5 separate regions of the Homo sapiens genome follow, and regions 2, 3, 4 and 5 are each linked to region 1. The links are contacts of gene promoters, found by promoter capture Hi-C in blood cells and fetal thymus (Javierre and others, 2016). All regions are on one chromosome and are shown on one strand. Each heading gives the region's core, a stretch centred on a gene start or on the middle of the fragment in contact. The rest is flanking DNA. Distances are from core to core; before and after follow the strand shown. Region 1 holds the start of ZCWPW2 (zinc finger CW-type and PWWP domain containing 2). Region 2 overlaps NEK10 (NIMA related kinase 10). Region 3 overlaps NEK10 (NIMA related kinase 10). Region 4 overlaps NEK10 (NIMA related kinase 10). Region 5 overlaps NEK10 (NIMA related kinase 10).

Region 1 (4,493 bases), core at 1,148-3,647:
ATTTCAGATTAAATTTGTAGCTACAAAAAATGTAATGGTTTAAAAGAAAAGAAACTGTCCCAAACTTGGCCTTGGACACAGCTTTTTAGATGATGTAATTCACAACTCCCTCTTGGGAAAATATGAAAATTCCTGAAAAAAATCCCTAAGCAAAGTTCCAATAAATTTCAATGGAATCAAGATGCTCTGGAAAACCAACCACTCACTGAACTAGTTGGCTATCAGTTAAGATTATCATTCAGGACCCCTAAATTCTTTTCTTTCTTAGAGCTTAACAATTATCTAACCATTCTCTTTTCCTATAAAATGTCCTTATCAAGACTGTATCTTTTAATTAACTTATCAGAGGTCTTTCCCTGATAATAAACCTTTAATACATGATTATATATGAACTGTGTAACAAGTTTTCTCTAACAATTTATTTTATTTGAGAAAGTTAATTGAAGCAGATACAGGGTGGAAAGTGACCATTTGCAGCTAAATCCAATGACTATACGGATTATATTTTGTCATAATCTAGCAGGGGTTCTACAACCCAAAAAGAAAAACTAAGATGTTTTACTTGACTAAAATAATAAAATTTGTACATCCTGGTTAAGCAAATACATTTCTTAATAAACCCATTATATGTTAATAAACCCACTGTGTAGTGTGCACTGTGAAACAAAAATTGACTCTCTCACCAGATAAACTTCAAAATACTGATTTATGACATTTTATCTTTACTTACTCAGAAAGAAAAGATAAAAATGATGTCCCCTGCCTTTTCAACAATTCTTAAATTATTTTAAATTGTGAACGAAGATTCAAAAATATTTCTACACCTTCAAATTAAAAACCAGGTTACCACTTTATTTCTAATAACTTGTGATGCCTCAACCAATTTTGCTAGCATTCTTCAAAACTCTACTTGTAAAAACATACACCTAATGGTTGTTTTAAATTGAAAATTCTCAAAATGCATCATGGAAGCAATAAAAAAATTTAAGGACTGATACTTGCTCAAAATATTAAAAACACTGCTCTCTTCCATTCTCCAGCCCAGTAAATTGAAGCAAATCGTTTCCTTTCTCAACGATAACATTAACACAGATTTCTAAGTATTTTTAGAAATGTCATAAAACTTCAACTTGTGGTCTTTGTTCCTAACAGCTATAAATTTTCACTTAAATCTAAACCAAAAAAGACAATAAAAAAACCAACAACAATAAAAACGAATTTTCATATAAACCCTTGAGTGAAATCCATCCTATTGGGCTGACAGTTGGGCTGATAGTTAAGCGGACAGATGACAAAATACTACTTTAAGGGGGTGGTGAGTAATGTCCGTATTGCTAATCGGCGGTTAGTGACGTTAAATTTTCTATAATTATTGTTCCTTGTTTATTTGTTTATTTAACCAATAATACCTTAGAGTTACAGGGGTTCCACCTGGCTGCGACCTTCAATGACTAATTAATTCAACTACTTGTGACTCCACAGCTAGGGACGGTCTATCATCTAGAAATAACCAAGGTGGTGGCAACTCCAGGGAAGCCGGGCGCAACTCCAGTACTCTGGCATCTTCTCCCTGTCTCTCATTCCATAAATTGAGCAGTGTGCTAGAAGTCGTGGTGTCGTTTGTGAATAATTACAGACCCCTACGCAATTCGTCGAGCTTGTGCCTCAAGTGATCGCCTGAGGGCTTGCAAGTAGTTTAGAAAACAGAGGCTACAGAGGAACGGCTTCTAACAGACTTCCCAGTTCCCAGCCACGTCAGCTCGTAAGCCTGTAACAGCGCTACTGAGCCGAGCCAGCACGCACCACACGGCCCGGGGACCCCCCAAAAGGACACTGAGTGAAAAAGACGCACCAGAGGGCGCCCCTGAAGGGGGACCTCGGCCCAACAGACAAGACGGCTGGTAACGCTCTTACCTAACTCCACTCCGCCTCCGCCTCCTGGCGTCCCGCGGCCCCGCCCCGTCCCGCCGCGGAGGCTCACGGGACATGTAGTACGCCGCGCGCCACTCCTGCACTTCCCCACCCCCACGACCGAACCTGGCTTCGCTAACGCCCTCCCAGCTCCCTCGGGCCTGACTTCCGGTTTCCTCGCGCGTCCCTGGCGCCGAGCCCGCGGACAGCGGCAGCCCCTTTTCCGGCTGAGAGCTCATCCACACTTCCAATCACTTTCCGGAGTGCTTCCCCTCCCTCCGGCCCGTGCTGGTCCCGACGGCGGGCCTGGGTCTCGCGCGCGTATTGCTGGGTAACGGGCCTTCTCTCGCGTCGGCCCGGCCCCTCCTGCCTCGGCTCGTCCCTCCTTCCAGAACGTCCCGGGCTCCTGCCGAGTCAGAAGAAATGGGACTCCCTCCGCGACGTGCCCGGAGCAGCTCCCTTCGCTGTGGAAGCGGCGGTGTCTTCGAAGAAACCGGAAGCCCGTGGTGACCCCTGGCGACCCGGTTTGTTTTCGGTCCGTTTCCAAACACTAAGGAATCGAAACTCGGCGGCCTTGGGGGCGGCCCTACGTAGCCTGGCTTCTGGGTGAGTGACTCGCCAGGGACGGGTGGAGGATAGGGATGCGGGCAATGCCGCGGCCAACCTCCGTAGCTGTTGCCGGTCCAAAAAGACACGTCATTTTTTTCTCACTCCCTCCCGCGCCCCCTCCTTTGACTAGGGAGCGGCCCACTCCTGGGCATCCCTTTCCCCAGTCACCCCCACACCCAGCTGTCCACACCCTTTCCCCTGTCACCCTCACCCCCAGCTGTCCAGGCCCTTCTTGGTCATTCACTTCTCTAATTACTCCTTTTCTTTTCGTACTCTTACTGGGGCGCCTTCAGTTTTTTTTCATTCATTGAGACTGCTAAATGCTTCTTTCCGATACAAATTATCGGAAAGAAAAGAGGGACATTGGCTAGGACGGTACTCCCTGGGGCATCTGAGTGGTGAATATCGACCCCCTGCACTTGATCGAGGGCTAACAGGTATTCGTCGTTTCTCCAATGTCTAACCTGTATACGGTATTCATTCCAGCCTTCGGCTGTTTGTTGAGTAACTACTACTACGTGCAAGGTAGGCTGACACCCTCTACACAAAAGAAACCCCAATACTCGAAAGCGAGATAAAATACCCACGAAAACTCTAGTACAAATCAAACCATCAGTTGCTCCAAGAGGTGATGGAAATTTGCTAAGGTGATCAAAGACAGACGTACCAGAATTAAAATTGACCCTTGCGCCTTATGTGTAGAAGACATTTTGGTTTTTAGATTGGAATTTCAAATTGGATTGAGCAAGATCTCAAGGCAGAATTTCATTTCTCTAAAAACGCCATATCTCATTGCCCAATCTTGTGATCATTTCATCATCTGTAAATTGAGAACAGTGCATCCTTTACAGGATATTTCCAAATTTTAATGTGATATTGTTTGTAAGCCAGACATCTTACGCAAGTAGAAGGTTTTAATATTAAAGAGACAGCATAACATAATGGGAAATGACACTGGATTAGGTCAGAACACCAGTATCTGAATGCTGATTTTTCCATTTACTTGACAATGGGTAAGAGGCTAAACTTTTTCTTCATTTTCCTTATCTCTGAAATGGGTGTAATACATACTCTAAGGCACCAAAGCATAGTTTCTAAGAGTTATGCTGGCTCTGGAGTCAGCTGCCTGATTTTCATTTCTGGCTCCCCTACTTTCTAATGTTTTCATGTCTCAATTTCTCCACCTGTAATCTGAGGAGATTCTTTACAACCTCAGAGGTATTACATAGATTTACTGAATGCTTATGAAGAACAAATGAGATAGTTTCTCCAAAAGGTGAAGCACACTGCTTGGTATACCATAAACGCTTGGCTACTATTAATTACCAATGCAGAACCTTGTCATTATTATTAAGTAAAATGCTGAAGTTTTTTTTATAATCCATGAAGTAATAGAACCAATCTTTTTCTTTTTTATGGCACTTATATTCAGAGTGCAAGTATAGTTGCCTTATCACTGTTAGAAAATAATTTTCAATAACACCAGTAACATTGAATGTATAGTAGATGCTTAGTTGCATTAGAGGTATTACTGTATGAAAGGGATGAAAAGAAGTAGACTGCTCTTCATACCTATGCTAACTCTGGAAGAGTCTTGATCTGTGCAATACAAACTGATTTCTGGACTAACGCAGTTTGTTGGATAACTCAAGAGTCATAAAAATGGAACTGGAGTTTTTCTTCATATTGTATATCTAATGTTGAGTACATTTTTGGACATTTATTGAATTACAGGGCTTTTTATTGCTAATGTACACAGATTAAGAGATGATGTTTTGAAAAGAGGTACTTGATGACCCTTCTTTATAAACTAGTTAGGCTATTTTACAAATTGAGAAAGGGGAATAAGCATTGGTCTGTTCGTCTTCGTAAGACTTAATCCTTGCTCCATAGTATTTTGACTGATTGTACGAAATAGGTTCGGGAATATCCTAACTTTTCAGAGGTAGAAAGGTGGTGAAAATTCTAAATAT
Region 2 (4,493 bases), core at 693-3,192, 1.2 Mb after region 1:
ATTCTGATATTTTATTAGAATAATCTTCAATAAGCTCCAAAATTGAGATTTGTCACTCTGAAGAAGTCATTTAACCATCTGGGGCCATTGATTTTTTATTATCTATGAAAGCTGACTGAACTATTTCTAAGGTTCTTTCCATCTTAGATAGTCTACAATCTTCTAGACCTTAGATACTAGCAGACATTTCTGTCCATACATATAGCAACTAAACTACAAAAATACTAAATCAACTGGGCAGAAAGAAAATTGTTTACCTCTGGTTAACAAAACTTGATATTGGAAAATCCCTTTGTCCTGGTTGGTAGACCTTTCGATACAGCCCTGGAAGTGGCCATAAGCTCCCCTGAAAGGCCCAAGGTACAAGCAATTCAGGCCCACCTAGGTAAAGACAATTGGTAGCACTCCAATTTCATATTTTTTAAAAAGTTTCATCATATTTTTAAATGGGTAGCATAGTCATGCTGCCAGTGAACTTTTCCTTTAAGGTTTCACGTTCCTTTAATGCATCAAAGCTTCAGCATTAACTTACTCATTATTTAGAAAATATGATAGGCTCTTTGATAAGAAATGCAAACAACATTCTTTAGCTTTGTTGTTTCACATCACTGGTATCTGCACATACACCAAAAACAGATGGGGGAAAAAGACACAGCTGCAGGTAAACAAAACATAAAGCCTGCTCCATCAGAGATTAGAGAGCAAGGTTTCTTTCCTGGGTTGTGTTGGCAAATAGGGCCAAGAAACAAAGCTGAAGGAGATCAAAGCAGTAGAAGAGGCTTCAGATATTTATCTTATGATATTTATATATTGTATCATAATAAACACATTTTTAAAAGATAAAAGCTTAAATCTCCCATGAAAAGATAATATGTTGCTTGGTTTTTTATTCTTATTAAGGTCATATAACTCTTATTCTTATTTTATATTCTTATTAAGGTCAGAATAATCTGGTTTGAGCATAGACTTATTTTAACAGAAATCCTAGTTTTATGAGATGAAAGCATCTGCTACAAACTGTCTGAGACATAAAGGTGGCTTCAACTCCCACTGAGTGATTTTCCATCAGTGCTTCTCTTTATTTTCTCGTTTATTACTTATGTTTTTGGTGTTGCAACTCTTCCTCACTTTCTTTCCTCTCCTGATAGAGAAGATTTTGTTTGTTAAATTCTCCCACCCACTCCTTGTCTTCCTTCCTGTGTATTGTGGCAGCATCTCTCATTGGGCATTTACCTTCTGATACACCTCGTCTGGGAAAATAAAAACAGGAATTGGTAGGGTGGTAGGAGATGTTTGGGAAGCATGGGTGAGAGAACCCTCAGGAATAGACTCATCCTTATTATTAACTTGTTTAAGAGGCAGATTATACTCTCCTATAAAGACTGCCATGGTTCTCTTGTCTGATACTACAAGCCCATGGTGGTCTTTGGGACATCTTGTATGGACCTTTAGGTAGGGAAAGGCCCTATATATTGCTTTAGGGCTCATGATCAACAGAAGTGTGGTTCCATTCCTCTACAGGCAGCTTCAGGCTTGCGCCATCTCCCCATGAAGTTGGATGATACCTTCATGGGGGTGTATCCTCTTAGTCAGAGAGGCAGGCCTCCTGGGTGCTAAAGAAATCCTCAGCTTGGGATATTAAAACACTTCCTATTCTTTACCACCAAACTGAAAAAAATAGCTCTGACAAAAAAAAAAAACCTTTCTTAATTTTCCCTGTCCAGAATTAATCTTACCTTTCTCTATGGGTGAATCCACTTTTTCACCTGTATTATTGTGTTTTAAATAGCTTTTTATCTACCTTACATTCTGTTTCCCCCAAAGTTGGTGGGTGTGTCTTATTTATCTTTGATTCCCCAGGGCCTTGCACAGTGCCTGGCATGTGGTAGGTACTTAATGTTTAATAATTGGAGATAGGATATATAATACATTAATATATATTCTGTATAATATATAGTTGTTCCATTCTTTATTGGTATACTGATAAAATATATTCATATATGTAACTTTCCTGCCTTCATCTAAACTTAAATGAGAAGAGTTTGTGACCTCCATTTTTACCCCTTTTCTGGTATAATCTTTTGATAGCAACAACTTCTGTTCATAAATGGATTTTTCATTCCCTGTGTAACCATAGAGGAGTGGCCAATTAGCCTTTGACTGACACAGTCACCCCATACCAGGGCCATAGGAGCAGTAAGTGGTGACAGCCCGTAAATGCACTTGATTTCTACCTTTCTCACTGAAACTTCTAAAACCCACGGGCCCTGTGTCCCTAGTTTGAAGGAGCCATTATGGGATGACTGTGCCTACTTACTAATAGCCTAAGACCCAGAAGGATACAGAAGATTCAAAAAGTGCAAAAGGCCTTTTCTAAGACATTAAGCTCTTTATTTATACCTCACCTAAGTTAGTCTTCAATCCAGTCTGCTCAATCTTGGCTAGAATTGCGAGGGGAGTAAAGCAACCAAGTAATTGTATAGGTACCCTTGGGAACTAGGATTTTCAGCATGGAGGAAAGGGGAAACAGAAGCAAGATAGCAGAGATTCATCTAAATTGGAATTGGAAGTATCAGTGTGAATGAATATGAGTTCATGATAAATCTCATCTATTAAAAAATATACACATTTCCTAATATTTTCATTGAAATAGTCGAGAAACTAATCAAGCAGCAATGAGCTCCTCCACCCATGACTCCTTGGGGATATAGGTGATTTTGGTCTAGAGCAGGAACTGTACAAGATTAGACTGGAATATTTGGACATACAGATAGCATAGTAAGTATGGTGTCAAGGACTACTGAGAGTATATCAAAAGTTCTCAAGAGCCAAATTGAAGAGGCTCCCACTGGCTATTTATGGGATAATTGGAACATCAATAAGAATAATAAATTGAAAGCATTAAATAAGGTTTAAACCCAAGAGTTCATAATACCAAAAAAGAAAAAAAAAAATCCCTCATTGGTTACCTTTGGAAGATGCTAAGTAACCAGCTTATTATATTGAAAATTGTTTACATAGGAAAGAAGAAAGCTTTTATTCTGCCTTTCCTTTATGAATTCTATCGCATGTTAACAAAATCATTGAGAGGAAAAGTTTCTTATTGTAGAAGTACTTAAGCTAATAAGTGCCAAAGGGATAAAGAATATTCCTGTTTTGCAGTCCCTGTTTAAATGATAGCACCTAGATATGATCACCAATGGGCGTTAATGTCACAAGAAGGACAATCAGGCATTATATGCCACCTGATGGGAGTGTACAGCACTGTCTATGAAATATTCTTGCTAAAAGCTTGAATCTACATCTGATTAAGGCTGTAGATTAGAAGTCAGCAAATTACAGCCCTCAGGCCAATCATTTCTGATGCCTGTGTTTGTAAATAAAGTGTTGTTGGAACGCAACTGCAGAGGTTCACTTAATACTGTCTATGGCTGCTTTTGTTTACAGACAAAGTTGAATAGCAGTTACAGAGACCATATGGCCTGGAACGCCAAAAATATTTACTATCTGATCCTTTACGGGAAAAGTTTGTCTGTCCCTGCTCTGGATCTAGCTATCTACTTGCAGCAAATAAGGGGACAACAGAACATGTTTAATGACATCAGGGGGATAATCAGCAAAATCCAGCCAGGAAATCCATAGGAAAAGTGACCTGTTTTCTTCAATAAATAAATTTCAGGAAGAGGGGAGGAGGAGAGAAGAAGGGAAGAAAAGGGAGAGAAAGAGTGTGGAGAAGCGGAGAGGGATTGCCTGTAAAGATTAAAGCATTTTAGGGAAAATAACCACTTGCAATATATGGAATTATTTCTTCCTGACTTAAACATAGAAACTCTAAAAGTGTTTGAAATATATATTTACAAGAAAGTTGGGAAAATTAAAACATTGATTATATATTTGTTAGAGAGTCATGCACCACATAATGATGTTTTGGTCAGTGATAGACTGGATATATGACAGTGGTCCCACAAGATTATAATAGCATAATTTTACTGTACCTTTTCTGTATTCAAATATGTTTAGATACATAAATACCATTGTGTTGCGGTTGCCTACAGTATTTAATACAGTAAAATGCTGCATAGTTTTGTAGCATAGGAACAATAGGCTCCTATTGCTCCTATTGCCAGCATATAGCCTAGGTGTGTAGTAGGATGTACTATCTAGTTTTGTGTAAATACACTCTATGATGTTTGCACAATGATGAAATTGCCTAATGATGTGTTTCTCAGAATGGATTTCTGTTGTTAAGCAGTGCATGACAGTATTCAGGAATCAATAACCTCTTAGGTGGGATAATTATATTGTGGTTTTGTTTTTTAAAAAGAAATCCATCTCTTTTAAAGAGCCATGCTGAAATATTACGGATAGTATGATATGTTGTACAGGATTTGCTTTCCAATTCTTGAGAGTGAGACAAGGTAGGAAGGGAAGTGGGGGAGATTTAAATGAAGCAAGATTGAACATGTTTTAACTGGGTGACGGGTACGTGGAAT
Region 3 (4,493 bases), core at 651-3,150, 1.2 Mb after region 1:
GAAAGATGGGGGAATGGCTGGTTGATGGAACAGTCAGAGTACACACAACATCCATCCATTAAGTTTACTATCTTATATGAGTGCAGTTTGTGGTGCCCCAAAACAATTACAATAGTGACATGCAGGATCCGTCATCACAGATCATCACAACAGATCTAATAATGAAAATGTTTGAAATATTGCAAGAATTACCAAAATGTGACACAGAGGCATGAAGTAAATGCATGCTACTAGAAAAATGGTGCCAGTAGCCTTGCTCAATGCAGAATTGACACAAAACTTAAATTTGTAAAAAAATTTAAAAAAAGCAACATCTTTGAAGTGCAATATAATAAGGTGCAATGAAATGAGGTATACTTGTAAATACCTTGGAGTATTTCCTCTGAGATCAGGCCCTTGAAAACTATTTATTGAGTAACTGATTTAGACCCATCACTGTATAAACTCTTGTTTATCTTTGCTATTGTATTGAGAGCAACTGCATAAGTAATCAGAAGCAGTGAGGGAATCACTGATTTTTTTGTATTAGACTTTTAAAATATTTTATTTTTATTAAATTTATTTTATTATATTAAAATATATACATATATATTTTAGATTTCAGATTGAGATAAGAAATTTCCTTTACCAATGATTATTTGCTTCCTCATTCTTCATGCCAAGGGAGGTGCCAAACGACTGTGTACAGGGTCCCAGGAGGATGCTTCTTGGAGATGTAGATTTTTTTCATGGTCATTTTAGGGTAATGTGTTTTCAAATGGATACTCATCTCACAAGAGTTACTGGTGGTTCCAATTCAAGCCTAAATCCAAATTGCATATCACCTGTTAAATGGCAACTCACACTCATGCCATTTGGGTTTCTGCCTGGGAGGAAAGGCTAAAGGAAGTAAGGGTTGAAAGGTATCCCACTCTCTGGTAGGAGTAAAGGGAGGTAGGTCAGCATGACTTGGGTGATGATTGTAGCATGGTGTGTAAAATAATTGAATTAACAGCGAAAAGCATCACCCTCAAATTCCAAATTGCCATTATTAGTAATTTATAGTGGATTTTAAAAATATGTTAAAAGTATTTACAAATATGCTTTGAATTAGTTTGTTGCATTGACCAATTTGAGAATTGAGGACAGTGACAGAAGGGCCAATTATAAGAAGAAGAAACCTGGATATCAAAGACCTTAGGTTCATGTGGAGTCTGTTGCACATGAGCCATACCATTTTGGACATACATATGGACATCTAATCAAATTATTCCTGTGTAGAAATGTAAGCACCAGTAGCTAAGAATCTATCCATGTGTTGGCTCCTGTCTGGGGAGTAGTTTTTTTAAGGATCTCAGAGTACATTTAAACCATAAGGGAGTATTAATCATTGAATCAGTCATTAAGCTTCTATTAATTCCCTTTCTTCAAGAAAAATGTTGATACAACTAAGGCTGTGTCCAAACCATTCTATAATGGTTGCTACAGCAGTTCCCTCTCCTGAAAGCAAGAGGCCTCTTTCTTCTCTCTGGGATACCTGCCTGCCCTCCACTATAGCTGGAACCTTGTTCATTCTTAATTGACTCTGCTCAGTATGGATTCAATAATTTATTTGGGATGTTTCATATAGTGTGTCAATTAAAAATTTTTCTGTTTATATAACTACTTATTATTTTTTATATTGGGGTGCAAAAGCACAATTCTTAAAGTTGTTCTTTGGCAAGTGTCTGAGTTTTATTCAATGCATTGATGATAGAACCAGGTGGAAGACAAAAATGCTGATTCAAGAGCATTTGAAGAACAGAGATTTATGTAGTTAGGCAAGAAAGAAGGGCTGACATAAGATTGCTAAATTAAGCGTAAGACTGGTAGAACTTCTATAGGGCAATAAAATGATACCATTTTTGTGATCAAGTTCTTGACTGGGTGTAAAATCATACCAGTATATTAATTTCTGCAGGTTAACCTCTAACGCTACAGGCCTGTAAACTGTCTGCTCCTTTATTGGTGTAGATTGTTAGTTAAATATACTGTGACATTACCCATTATGGGAATATAAGACACATTACTTAAAAGAGGCTCAGCCAGAATTCAAGAGTTAAGGACTTCAAAGCAGCCTTGCCTCTGGCCTTTAAACAGCTTATTCCTGAAGTTTCAAATGAAAGGAAGTTTGTTGCCTGATCACCCAGAGGTGAAAGGAGCTGATGCTTTGACTCAGCTTCCTGCCATTCTGTGAGAAACTCTGCCGGAGGCTAGGGTAGCAGGGGCATCTAGGCCTAGACTGCCAAGCTCCTTCCAAACACTTTTTGTCTGATTATAGAATGGTCTACTGGTCTGTGTTGGGAAGTTTCCATTGTCCATGCATCATATCCTCTGTCACTTCCCTCTCTCTTCTGATGGAACATCATATTCTCAGTGTCTCAGTCCCAAGCTTCAGCAGTCCTTGGCTCCTGCTCCCCATGTGGAAACAGCTACAGTGCACTGTAGATTGATTCACCCCACAACGTGTATGACCTCAGCCCCCTTGGTTCTAGTCCCATTTTTACCATTCTGCCATTTCATATGAAGAAACTAAGGCCCAAAGAAGTTGTGACTTTCTGAAAACCATATTGCAATGCAAGCCAGGCCTCTGACTTCAACTGTATGATCCTCTTCCCGTGAGATCACCTTTCCTGAAATACAGTCAGCCTTATTGTTTCTCACCATCGTGTATGGTCCCTGGCTACCTCTCCAGCTGTATACATACTGTACTTTTTTTATTGTACTGCACACCAGCTAAACTGAACAGTTTGCTGTTCTTCAGTTGCAGCCCTCACTTAGCTGACTTCACTCTTTGCTGGAATTATTCCTTCTCCTAAGAACCCACACTCACATACAACTTCCCTCACACCCAATACATTTCCTGTGCTATCGAAGACCTTCTAATTCTTCCTGGTCTTCTCAAATTAACATTTGAATTTGCTCTTTAGCCTACATCCATGGTTGTCTGGGTGAACCTTCTATGAAATCCTTATGAGTTCAAGATTCTTCATCTAACCAGGGACACAGGGATTGATTGCTGAACACTTACAGATTTGAACTACAATTACGTTACTTTATTTCATTGTTATGATAGTAAAGAGGTGAGAGTAAATTTGTATTGTAGTTTGACAACACTGTTGGTCCAATATAGAGAAGCTCATGTGTGTTTTGGCCCCCCATTCATGAAAACAATATATTTTTTGCTTCTTCATGGATTTCCTTCCTTAACCCTTTTTTTCTCCAGTTGTCCAAAAGTTCCTGATCCTTAGCTGAGAGAATTCAGAAAAATAATGCATTGATACCATATTTTGATCAATTGGGAGAGTACAGTGTAACCCACTTTTTTGGGTTTAATTTGTAGTTATTAACAGCTTCAAAGTGTATATTGTGAATTATAGTTTCAATAGAATGGACATATAGTATGTGTCAAGTGTCAAGTGTCAAAGCACCAGGGATGGGCAACTAACTTGGCTATTTTATTATGCAATGATATACTAAAGCAGAATGTAGTGCACAGCACTAGCTGTAAAGACCTAATGCTTCCAGCTTATTATGTCTACATGCTTTCCAAAAATAATTAATTAAATGTTGAGAGAGATAGATAGAACATCGTGTTAAAAGTAGCAGTCCTTTTAAGAAGAGAAATAATATTTCATTATGGGAAGGAGATATTGTTTTGTATTTGCAGTAACCAGAGGCGCCTTCTAGCTGTGTCCTTGCATGGTAGAAGGGGGTGACCACCTCCCTCTGGCCTCTTTTATAATGGCACTGATTCCATTCATGAGGCCTCCGCCCTTAGGACCTAATCACCTCCCAAGCTCACTTCCTCCAAATGCCATTGCCTTGGGGATTAGGATTTCAACCTGTGAATTTTGGTGGTTCAGAAGCATTTAGACCACAGCACTCAGTCTCCTCATCTGTAAAATGGGGGTAGAATCTACACCAATAAAGGAGCAGACAGTTTACAGGCACTGGGAGGTGTTTTATGCATTTAGTCTCCTCTGTGGATTAAAGCAGACTAAATGTGTAAAACACCTCCCAGTTTCTCACCCAAGTTCTTGCTAAAAAAGAAGGACTGCTCTTCTTGCAAGTCCTCTGACCTAACACTGCAAAGGGGAAACAAAATAGCTCTTTAGCGTCATGCTTGCAACAGAGTAAGCTAGCAAATATAATTATGTAATGACTTTTTGACGCTTTTAAGTAAATTGCCTCTTATAAGAAATTTCGTAGTTTCCTTCTAAGTTTTAAAACACTAGCCAAATTTACTATTTTAATAAAAACTATAAAAGAATACAAAGTATCCCAATATTTTAAACTTTGATTTTATTTAAATTTTAAGGAGACCAAATATTGTGTATATATTTTGCAGTAGGAAATACCACATAGATATGAATCATGGGCATATTATGTATGACTGACATTGCACATGAACTGTGATCAGCCTCACCGATGTCTCTTTAATAAAAAATTGTTTTAATACAAATATTCTCAGT
Region 4 (4,493 bases), core at 758-3,257, 1.0 Mb after region 1:
AGACCTGCTCTAAGCACTTTGCTTATTAACTCATGTGATCTGCACATTAACCCTATTTTTCCCGTATTTTATAGATAAGGCAACAAGACACCTTTATCCAGGTCATGATGGTCTCTGATAAATAACGATGTGAATTTTATCATGAACATTATGGGGACTCATGGGAACATTTTAAGCATGATCAAATTTGTTTTTTGAAAGATCACTTTGATAGCAGTGTATGTGGGAGTGAGGTGGGGGTGTTTGTTTATATCCACACATTGAGATCCACTTACAACAAAGAGAGGCTGGGAAAGTTCGTGAAGGTAAAGAATACTATTTATCAAGGAACATTTATTATTAATGTCAGAGCACAAAATTTGGGAGGGAGAGGAGCCATAGGTAATCAGCTCAGGGGAAAGGAATGAGAAAGCCGTATGAGAATGAGAATATTGGAGAGGTAGATGAAAGAGGGATTTATATCTTGAGCATGACAAAGGATTACAAGGATGGGAGGAGCAGTGGGGTTACCTAGCTGCCTGGTGTTCAAAAGAATCCCAACGTTGCCCAGGAAATAGAAAACACTAAGAGCTCTTGATTGACAGTGGAGGAGTGTGAAAAGAGGAGTATGTGTCTTGATGACTCCCAGTCTTGTGGCTTGGAAGACTGAAAATATTGTGGTGCCATGAGTCAAGATCGGGGATATAAGGTGAAGAATAGACCTGGGGAGGAGGCTAATGACTTTGAGTTTAGGGGTAGTATGGAGAGTACTTGTGGAATATCCATGTGGCTAAAACTTCTGGAAGTTAGGAGCAATGCCTGGGCTGAGATCATGATGACAGGGTTGAAAGAGTGTTTGAAATCATGGGAATGGATGACACCATCCAGGAGGGGAGTGTTTAGAGTATGAAACTGGAGGACTAAGGATGATTCTATAAAACGTTTATCATCATAATATTTCATGGCACAGCTGAACCTTGTGTCTTTACCATCAATTTAATGCACTTTGCACTGAGTATATAGTAACTGAGTGCTTTGCCCTTAACTTACCTGCATTGTAGTGTTTTTGACATTTTCTAAGAATGTCTTATTTTGCAATTACATAGTAAGTTTCTGAAGACTAGAATAAGGCTTTTATTATTATTATTTTTTTTTTTTTTTTAGTCTTTAGCACAATGCAGATGTCATTGTTTGTCCTTGATACCTATTTGCTGGTCAGTAGGTTTGTTTTTTGTTTTTGTTTTTGTTTTTTAAACAGAGTCTCGCTCTGTCACCCAGGCTGGAGTGCAGTGGCAAGTGACCTCGGCTCACTGCAACCTCTGCCTCCTGGGTTCAAGCAATTCTTCTGCCTCAGCCTCCCAAGTGGCTGGGATTACAGGCACACACCACCACGCCCTGCCAATGCTGGTCAGTAGGTTTTTAATCAGACCAACGATGATGCAACGAGCCTATAATTTAGAACAGTGGTCTGCAAACTATGACCTACAGTCTAAGTTTATTCCACTGCTTATTTTTGTAAATAAAGATTTATTTTAACATAGGGATGCGAATTTATTTTTATATGTTGTCTATGGCTGCTTTCATGCTATCTCAGCATAGCTGAGTAGTTGTGACACAGATTGTACAGTTAGTAAAGCTAAAAGTGTTTGGCTTTGATCGGGCTCCTTACAGAAAATGGCACATTGACCCATGACTTACAAAATGTTAGGGTTATATTTCATGCACTGATGATAGCTTTAGTCTTAATGTAAAGTAATCAACTCATGATGCTGTGATTCTCACCCCACCCTCTGTACCCCTTTCAGACTAACAGCGGAGTTGCTGCGCCTACTTTGTGCAGAGCCCCAGGTGAAAGAGCAGGTGAAGCTCTATGAGGGGATACCGGTCCTCCTCAGTCTGCTCCACTCTGACCACTTGAAGCTCCTCTGGAGCATTGTCTGGATTCTGGTACAGGTTTGTGAGGACCCTGAGACCAGCGTGGAAATTCGCATTTGGGGAGGCATCAAACAGCTTCTTCATATTTTACAAGGGTGAGTAAAAGTGGGCTTTGGCCTACTTTGCCCTGTTTGTTGAAGTCTGGGGACTCTGTGACAAGATGGCAGATTGGTGTGTGTCACCTCATTCCCTCCTGCTTTGGGATTTCTTTGGTAATTCATGCTTTCCAAAGTCATCTAGACTTGTCACAAGCATGTTCTAAATCAATGTCAGGGGCATTCATCTTTTAAATTCCTTGGGGACCCAGATATATTTATCTTTGCATCACCAACCTCCAGTACAGTGCTGGGAATGTAGAAGGCCATCAATCTGCAAATATAATGAAGGCTGAATGGAAATCCAGTAACCTAAAAAAAACCTTTGTCTTGCCACCTTTTCCTTGAATTAGTATATGCATTTTGTCATTCCAAGTATAATGATTACTAATATTTTCCTAAAATGTTTGTGTGTGCACATATGTTATTATCTATAAAGAGAAAACAAAGCCTATATGAAAGGAGCAGGTGTACAATCCTTGTTTTTGAAAGATGATATCATTAATCAAGTGGTTGCCATGTTACTAACTCTAGTCCAGTTCTCTACTTTTCTCTCTAATCTTCATTACGGTCCTCTAAGGTGGGCATTATCTCTCTTTTAAAAGTAGAATTCCAGTGACATTCTAAGTCAGGAGCACGGAGAATGGATAGTTTTGTTCCCAATTGAAATTCTCTAGAAGTACGTTGCAAACTAACTTCTGTATTTTCTGAATTAAATAGATTGAAGTATTTAATAATAATATCTTGTGGTACCATCCATGGGAAGATTCTATTACCTAATATTGTTATAAAGTATAATTCAGTTCTATGGGTGCTGAACCAAAGTTAAAAATGAGTATGCCTCCTTGAACTGGATCGTCTTTATGATCTGCAGTACATAAATAAAGCTCATTCTAATAAAAGCAGAGGGACTTATCAATTTTCATATAACTAGATATTATCAAATCAATGTTGTTATGACTTTGTATTTGTTATGCTTCCAGCGATATTGCAGAACTGTGTGTTACCAACTTCATTTTCTCTTAAGGAACATTCAGAAGCATAAGAATAGACTGTACAGACATGAACAGTAGCTTTGTTAACAATATTTGTCATTACCTAAACAAAGGAAAAATTTATAGACTGTTGACAACCCACTTGCTTCATGAATGTGACATAAAAATATCAATTACTTTATAGTATAAATTATAAGTCATTCATTAGTGCTGTGACATAATAAGCCAGCCCCTTGGTCAAAATAATTACAATTGCCAAAGGTTTTTTATTTAGGTTTGTAGGATGACGATGGTAATGATGATCATGGTGGTGGTTATTCTTTATTATTGGACAATCATACCTATTATAATAGGTATGGGTTGCCCTCTTGGAGAACAGCTATTTTCATAAGGATAAAATGAAATTCTGTAATAGTTAAGCAGAATTTCAAAGACAAAACCTGCCTTTTTCTCATATAGAATTGAATCTAGCTTTCTTCTTTTGCTGAAGTCATAACTATCCTTGGTAAAAAAGAGGTCTTTCACATCTAAAGTATCATTTTCCAGTCCATTTTGATGGTGCAATGTTAGCAAACTTTTCCCCAGGACAATGACATATTTTAACTCTTATTCTATGTTAAATATGTACTGGTGCTTTGGGAGAATTTATTACCCCAGCTGGATAAACAGTTTCTTTTCAGAGCTTGTGCCTGACCCTGGGCTGACTGCAGCTGGCATTAGGGGTAGACGTTTCCAGGCTGTCTTGTGGCTGGAGTATGAAGAACACTGTTTTCAGGGCAGTTTCTGGGACACTTTCTCATGCCTGTTCACCTGCCATCTCAAACTCAAAGGCAGCTCCCAAAGGGCTCTCTTGATCAGGTGAAGAGATCCCTACAATTTGAGTTTTAAGAGAATCATGTTGACAGATAAGATCACCACCTGTGACTGTCCCTAGGCCTAGCTCCATTACCTTCCCCATGCTCATTGCAGGGAGGACACTAGTGGACCCAGATGACATGAGAGGGAAGTCAAGGAAACTCCATCCATGTTACATTTAGGCACAGAGAAATTCAGGTAGAGTTGCTGCTATAAAAAATAAATACATGGAAAAAAATGGTAACTATGTAAAACAAAAGGGAACAAAGCAGGTGAAAGACAGATGAAGAACTATTATGGAAGAAAGTGTACTGAGTAAACAGAAAAGCCAATGCTTTATTTCATCAAAGACATTAAGCAGAGCATGAATTTATGAAATGAGATTAAAGATGAAACAAATTTTTGGACACAAAAAAGGGAGAAGACTGCAGAGCTAGGAAAGAAAACAAGGACTGAATAACACCTACAGAACCGATAAATTGCTAGATCACCAGAAAAAAATGGAAATAGTAAAATGTAGGGTAAGCTTGAAAAAAATTACATATAATGCAGAAGAAAAAGACCAATGAATAAAAGAAATTAGAAAATGAAAGATACGCCCAATAGAAGAAGACAGGTTTTCAACATGTGGACA
Region 5 (4,493 bases), core at 638-3,137, 1.0 Mb after region 1:
CAGGGAAACTCCCATTTTTAAAACCATGAGATCTCATGAGACTCATTCACTATCACAAGAACAGCACAGGAAAGACCTGCCCCCATGATTAAATACCTCCCACCAGGTCCCTCCCACAACATGTGGGAATTCAAGATGAGATTTGGGTGGGGACACAGCCAATCCATATCACTCTCCTTTGCTGTAAATTCATCTTTTGTTATACATATTGATTTGTGGGCTCTTCCTTCTTTAAGCATCTCAAAGTTAACATGTTTAAAACAGTACTTTTGAGTTTTCTCACTCAATGTGTGAGAATGCCTCAGTTTTAGTCTTCCCCATCAGCTAGTCCAAACCCCCATCATCTCTTGCTTGGACTATTGCAGTAGGCTAACAGGGCTCCCTGCTTTTGATGCTTGGCTCTTTATACTCTGTTCTCAACGTTGAATTTAGAAGGATTTTTTCAAGATCTCCTTCAGATTATGTCAATCCTCTCCCCAGAGCCTTCCAGTGACTTCCCTGGATAAAAAATCCAAAGGCCCTGTTCTTATTTTACAAGGCCGTTAAAGCTCTGGCTTCTCCTGTCTCTCTCACCCCAATCCCTATTGCTCTATCTTTGCTCACTCTGCTCCAGCCCCACTGGCTTCCTTGCTATTCTTTGCAGTTTACAGTATTCCTGCCTCAGGGACTATGTATTTAACTACTCTGCTGTTCTGACCTAGACATCCATATGGATCAATCCCTCAAATAACTCAGATGCTAATCTTATCAAAGAACTGTTCTGTGACTGTCCTAAAATAGCATGCCCAGTACTCATTAAATCCTTAACCTTGATTATTCTCCACTGGCCACCACCTGATATGCATTTTTATTTGTTTTTGTGATCAGAATGTAAGCTCCATGAGTACAAGTGCATGGGTTTTTCCTCTGCTGTACTCCTGGGCTTATAACAGTACTTGGCTGATCACAGGTGATGAGTATATACTAAATATTTGAAAATATTCTGAAATTTTCATTAATTATGTAGAAGAAATACCTCTAAGAATGCATTTATATCCTGATTTTAGGGGCCAACATGATCCATTTGATGGGTTTCTGATTGGGTGTACATTTCATGCTAGATTTAGTAGGGGACACAGAGAAAGAACAAAGACCTGTTAAGAATAGCAAAATAAGTCAGTGAGAATTCCCTAAATAATCATTTAGGATGAATTTCTTCACATATATTCTTGTTTTTTTTTTTTTAAGTTTTGCATAGATGTGAATTTTACTTTTTCAGCTATCCAAAAAAATTGGACTCTGTCTTATGAATTTGAGGTGATATGTGTTTTGAAATAGGCTTGAATTCCTCTGTTTTTAATGAGTCAAAGATGGCAGGTTGTTTTGGTTTGTCTTGTGGTTAATGAAAACTACTACAACATGAAAAGGGCTGTGACATGAAAAAGACAGAGTGTGCTACAAATACAGTCAACATTGTCACTTCTGCCATTTGCATCAGTTCCTGGGTTCAGTTAACCCTGCTTCATTATAATAGCACAGCTTCGTGGACTGACTTTTTACTTGGAACCCTCACATCACATATTTGTTTCTCTTACTGTGTAAGAAGTTGAAACCCTGGCTACTCTTTCCCTTTTCAAATAATGTGTCTCCGGTGCTTTTCCTTCATTTTATATTGATGGCAGAAGATGGCACCTGATGCTGACAGCAGAATGGCAGGTGGTCACGGACAGGGGTGGCAGGAGCTGATCACGCTGCCATGTATTAATAGTCCTGTGAAAACAGTGGCATAAGTTCAGTCATAAGAGGGGACAAATATTTGCCCGCTCATGAATTTGCTTCTGTGTGGCTGCTATATTGAGACATGGCCTCTAGAGAAATACTATCTTTGCAGACAGGTTTCTCAGGGCTGCCCCCATGCCACTCTGCTGAATGCTACTGTTCCCATATTAAACATATCTGCAGAGTCACTTTCTCTTCAGCCATCCCTGTATAGACTTAGGTGGAGGGGAGGGATGGCAAGAGCACTGGAATGGGAGTCTGGCACCTGGCTCTATTACTTATTGTGTAGCTGTGGGCCAGACACTCAGCTCCTCCAGGCCACAATTGCTGAGTCAGTAAAATAAAGGTGCCTGTCTTTACAATCTGTCACTATTATTCACTGTAATTCTCCAGTTGCACTAAGCTGTGTGTTTCCTAGTCCCTCAGCTGGTGGCAAACAGATGTATGTATATATGTGTATATGTGTGTATAGTCTTGAAGAGCATGCAATTCTCCTTGAACACCAGCACTTCATCCCATGTGCTCCGTCCTTGCAGTGGGTTAAGGGCTGAGAGCCAAGGAAGGAACAACTGCTCTTTCAGAGGTCAGCGCAAAGAGATGAGAAGCCAGAGGACTCAGACACCAGGAATTCTATTTACATTTACAGCAGCAGAGGCCGCGTAGAAATATTAATAGCTTTGGGCTTCAGTTCCCAAATTGCAAAACAAAACAAAACAAAAATTCCATTTGGTTGGAACAGAAATTTCAACTCTGAGATTTTTCTGGAACTCTTCATTTATATACACTTCTTTATTAGTTAAAAAAAACTATTCTGGAATTTTTGTTCTTTTCTTTTTCCTGGGAGGTGGGAAGGAAACAAACTTTTTATATTTATATTAATATGAAAAATCACTGGAAAAGTCATGAAATTTCCTCATGATGATTGTATATGGCTAACAGTAAAAAATACCAACTGTACACATATTTGTAGCGTGAATCATCTCTTAAAATGCCCCATGGCTTTTCCTTTAAATAATGAAAAGTAATTAGCATTCAACATCACTAGGTTGCTAGCAGCTGTTGCAACCTGATCATTACTTCTGTTAGATCTTTGGGATGTAGTATCTTTGCCCTATAATTCAGGCTACATGCTGCCTTTAGCTAACCCAGCACCTGAAAGAGAAACTTGTCATGTGCCCTCTTCCTAATTATAAAGATTAAAGATATCCTCTCTGTATTAGGAGCTTTAGAATAACCATATTTTTAGTAAGTGCCCCCATAGATGATCATTTTGAGTTCAAAATGTATTTCAAATTTGGTTTATTTTTCCCAATGCAGGGTATGTCTGATCTGAAGTCAGGATGAACCCATAGTACATCCTGGATGTGGCCTTGGATAATTCTGCCTGGCTGGCAGTTTTGGGATTGGTTGAATCCTGACTCTATTTTCAGAGGAAACTGGGCTTTGTCCCCTTGGCAAAAAGGGGTCACTGACAGGGTGCTTGGGCCAGAGGAGGGGCCAAGGTGTTGATGGCAACTGTGGTGGGCAGCATAGCTGCCAAGAGTCTTGGTGATGGGAGGAAGAGTAATCCTCAGCCAGTGATATTCTTTGGACATCTTACTCAACATCTCTCCACAGAGCCAGGCCTTGTTGGGGGACTGTAATCTATAATGAGCACTCAGGAGTATAAGACTTTGGGAAGAGCTTACCTATCAACCTCCTTCCCATGAAGTCAGTCTTTGTAGATGGAAGGAATGGTGAGTGGCTTGGGGTGGAGTGTGAGTGGGGTGGGGTGGGGAGTAGCACCTCTAGTGGCAGTCACTACAAATGTTCATCCTAACTTTGAGGAAGATGGTTCTCATTCACTCAGGTTTGAGACGTGCTGGTTTGGGGGCAGAGTTGAATTTCTCAGGATCATAGAGGAGACAGAGATGAACTGTACCCAGAGGCAGAGGATCAGTGTGGGACAGGCCAGGCAATGAGTGGCTTGGGTCCACAACTCAAGTAATTGCTGTGTTTGACAAGGGGGCAGATCTTTATTCTTGCTGGATACACAATCAGCTCAGCTGTGGAGGTGGGAGATGTGGGAGAAATTATATAGATTCTAGTCTAGAATAGCTTCCATTATCTCCCTCGCTTTTTCTTGGCTGAGTATGAAATAGAAGATGCTTTGTGTTTTAGGCTTTTGTTAACGTGTGCACCAAGCACCACTATGGAACTAGCTTGAAGGGCAGTGTGAGCAAGTGTCACCTGGCCAGGACCACCTTCTGTTTCCAAGTTCCAGTGCATGGCAGCACTCAGCCTCTCTTTCTCACCTCAGGAGTTCAGTCTGTGCTGTGTTGGCCACTTCTGCACAACATACACTGTGGTTAGAACAACTGCAGGTGACTGGCCTCATATCATGGAGAACATCTTTCAAATTCTTTATGAGGTTCCAGTGTTGAAAAGCCACAAAAGGCTTTCATGGGAAGCACCTTAGGCACTGGACCTTGGCCCAGCCATGTAATGAGAAGGTCAGCATGACTGGGAGGGAGTGAACAAGGGGCAGTGGAAAGACATGAGGCCAGAGGTGTAATGGGGAGGCCAGGCCCTGGAGGGCCTATGAGTCATGGTATGGACTTTGGTTTTTATTCTGAACGAGATGGGGTCTGTTGGAGGATTTGGGCTGAGGAGTGACGTGAATGGACTTGTGTTTGTAAAGAATCATCTTGGCAGATGTGAGAGAGTAAAGGAAGGGGCAAAGCTGGAAGCAAAGA

The links. The method cuts DNA at HindIII sites, captures the fragments that hold promoters and counts their contacts. A CHiCAGO score of 5 or more calls a contact.
Region 2: a contact is called between a fragment that was not itself captured here and the fragment with the promoter of ZCWPW2 in region 1, in 1 of 17 cell types (total B cells). The highest score is 5.1, in total B cells.
Region 3: a contact is called between a fragment that was not itself captured here and the fragment with the promoter of ZCWPW2 in region 1, in 1 of 17 cell types (total B cells). The highest score is 6.9, in total B cells.
Region 4: a fragment that was not itself captured here is called in contact with the fragment with the promoter of ZCWPW2 in region 1 in 8 of 17 cell types (total CD8 T cells, naive CD8 T cells, total CD4 T cells and 5 more); the score reaches 8.7 in total CD8 T cells.
Region 5: a contact is called between a fragment that was not itself captured here and the fragment with the promoter of ZCWPW2 in region 1, in 1 of 17 cell types (naive CD8 T cells). The highest score is 6.2, in naive CD8 T cells.

What each region holds. Positions count from the first base shown.
Region 1 is chr3:28,346,625-28,351,117 of GRCh38, reverse strand. ZCWPW2 (zinc finger CW-type and PWWP domain containing 2) reads right to left here and starts at 2,397. Exons shown (of 10, transcript NM_001040432.4): 1 at 1,915-2,397. It overlaps AZI2 (5-azacytidine induced 2), which reads left to right and starts at 2,294. Exons shown (of 8, transcript NM_022461.5): 1 at 2,294-2,517. RefSeq lists enhancers at 1,688-1,767, 1,806-2,100, 1,200-2,180, 2,368-2,427. The HindIII fragment of the contact is 7,230 bases long and covers 1-4,493 here.
Region 2 is chr3:27,127,097-27,131,589 of GRCh38, reverse strand. The region is part of intron 32 of NEK10 (NIMA related kinase 10); the gene reads left to right. Among named protein-coding and RNA genes, the nearest start is that of NEK10, 240 kb to the left of the region's middle. The HindIII fragment of the contact is 2,187 bases long and covers 849-3,035 here.
Region 3 is chr3:27,145,175-27,149,667 of GRCh38, reverse strand. The region is part of intron 30 of NEK10 (NIMA related kinase 10); the gene reads left to right. Among named protein-coding and RNA genes, the nearest start is that of NEK10, 220 kb to the left of the region's middle. The HindIII fragment of the contact is 1,024 bases long and covers 1,389-2,412 here.
Region 4 is chr3:27,302,263-27,306,755 of GRCh38, reverse strand. It overlaps NEK10 (NIMA related kinase 10), which reads left to right. Exons shown (of 36, transcript NM_001394966.1): 12 at 1,785-2,009. Among named protein-coding and RNA genes, the nearest start is that of NEK10, 65 kb to the left of the region's middle. The HindIII fragment of the contact is 4,760 bases long and covers 1-4,387 here.
Region 5 is chr3:27,324,666-27,329,158 of GRCh38, reverse strand. All of the region lies in intron 5 of NEK10 (NIMA related kinase 10), which reads left to right. Among named protein-coding and RNA genes, the nearest start is that of NEK10, 42 kb to the left of the region's middle. The HindIII fragment of the contact is 6,077 bases long and covers 1-4,493 here.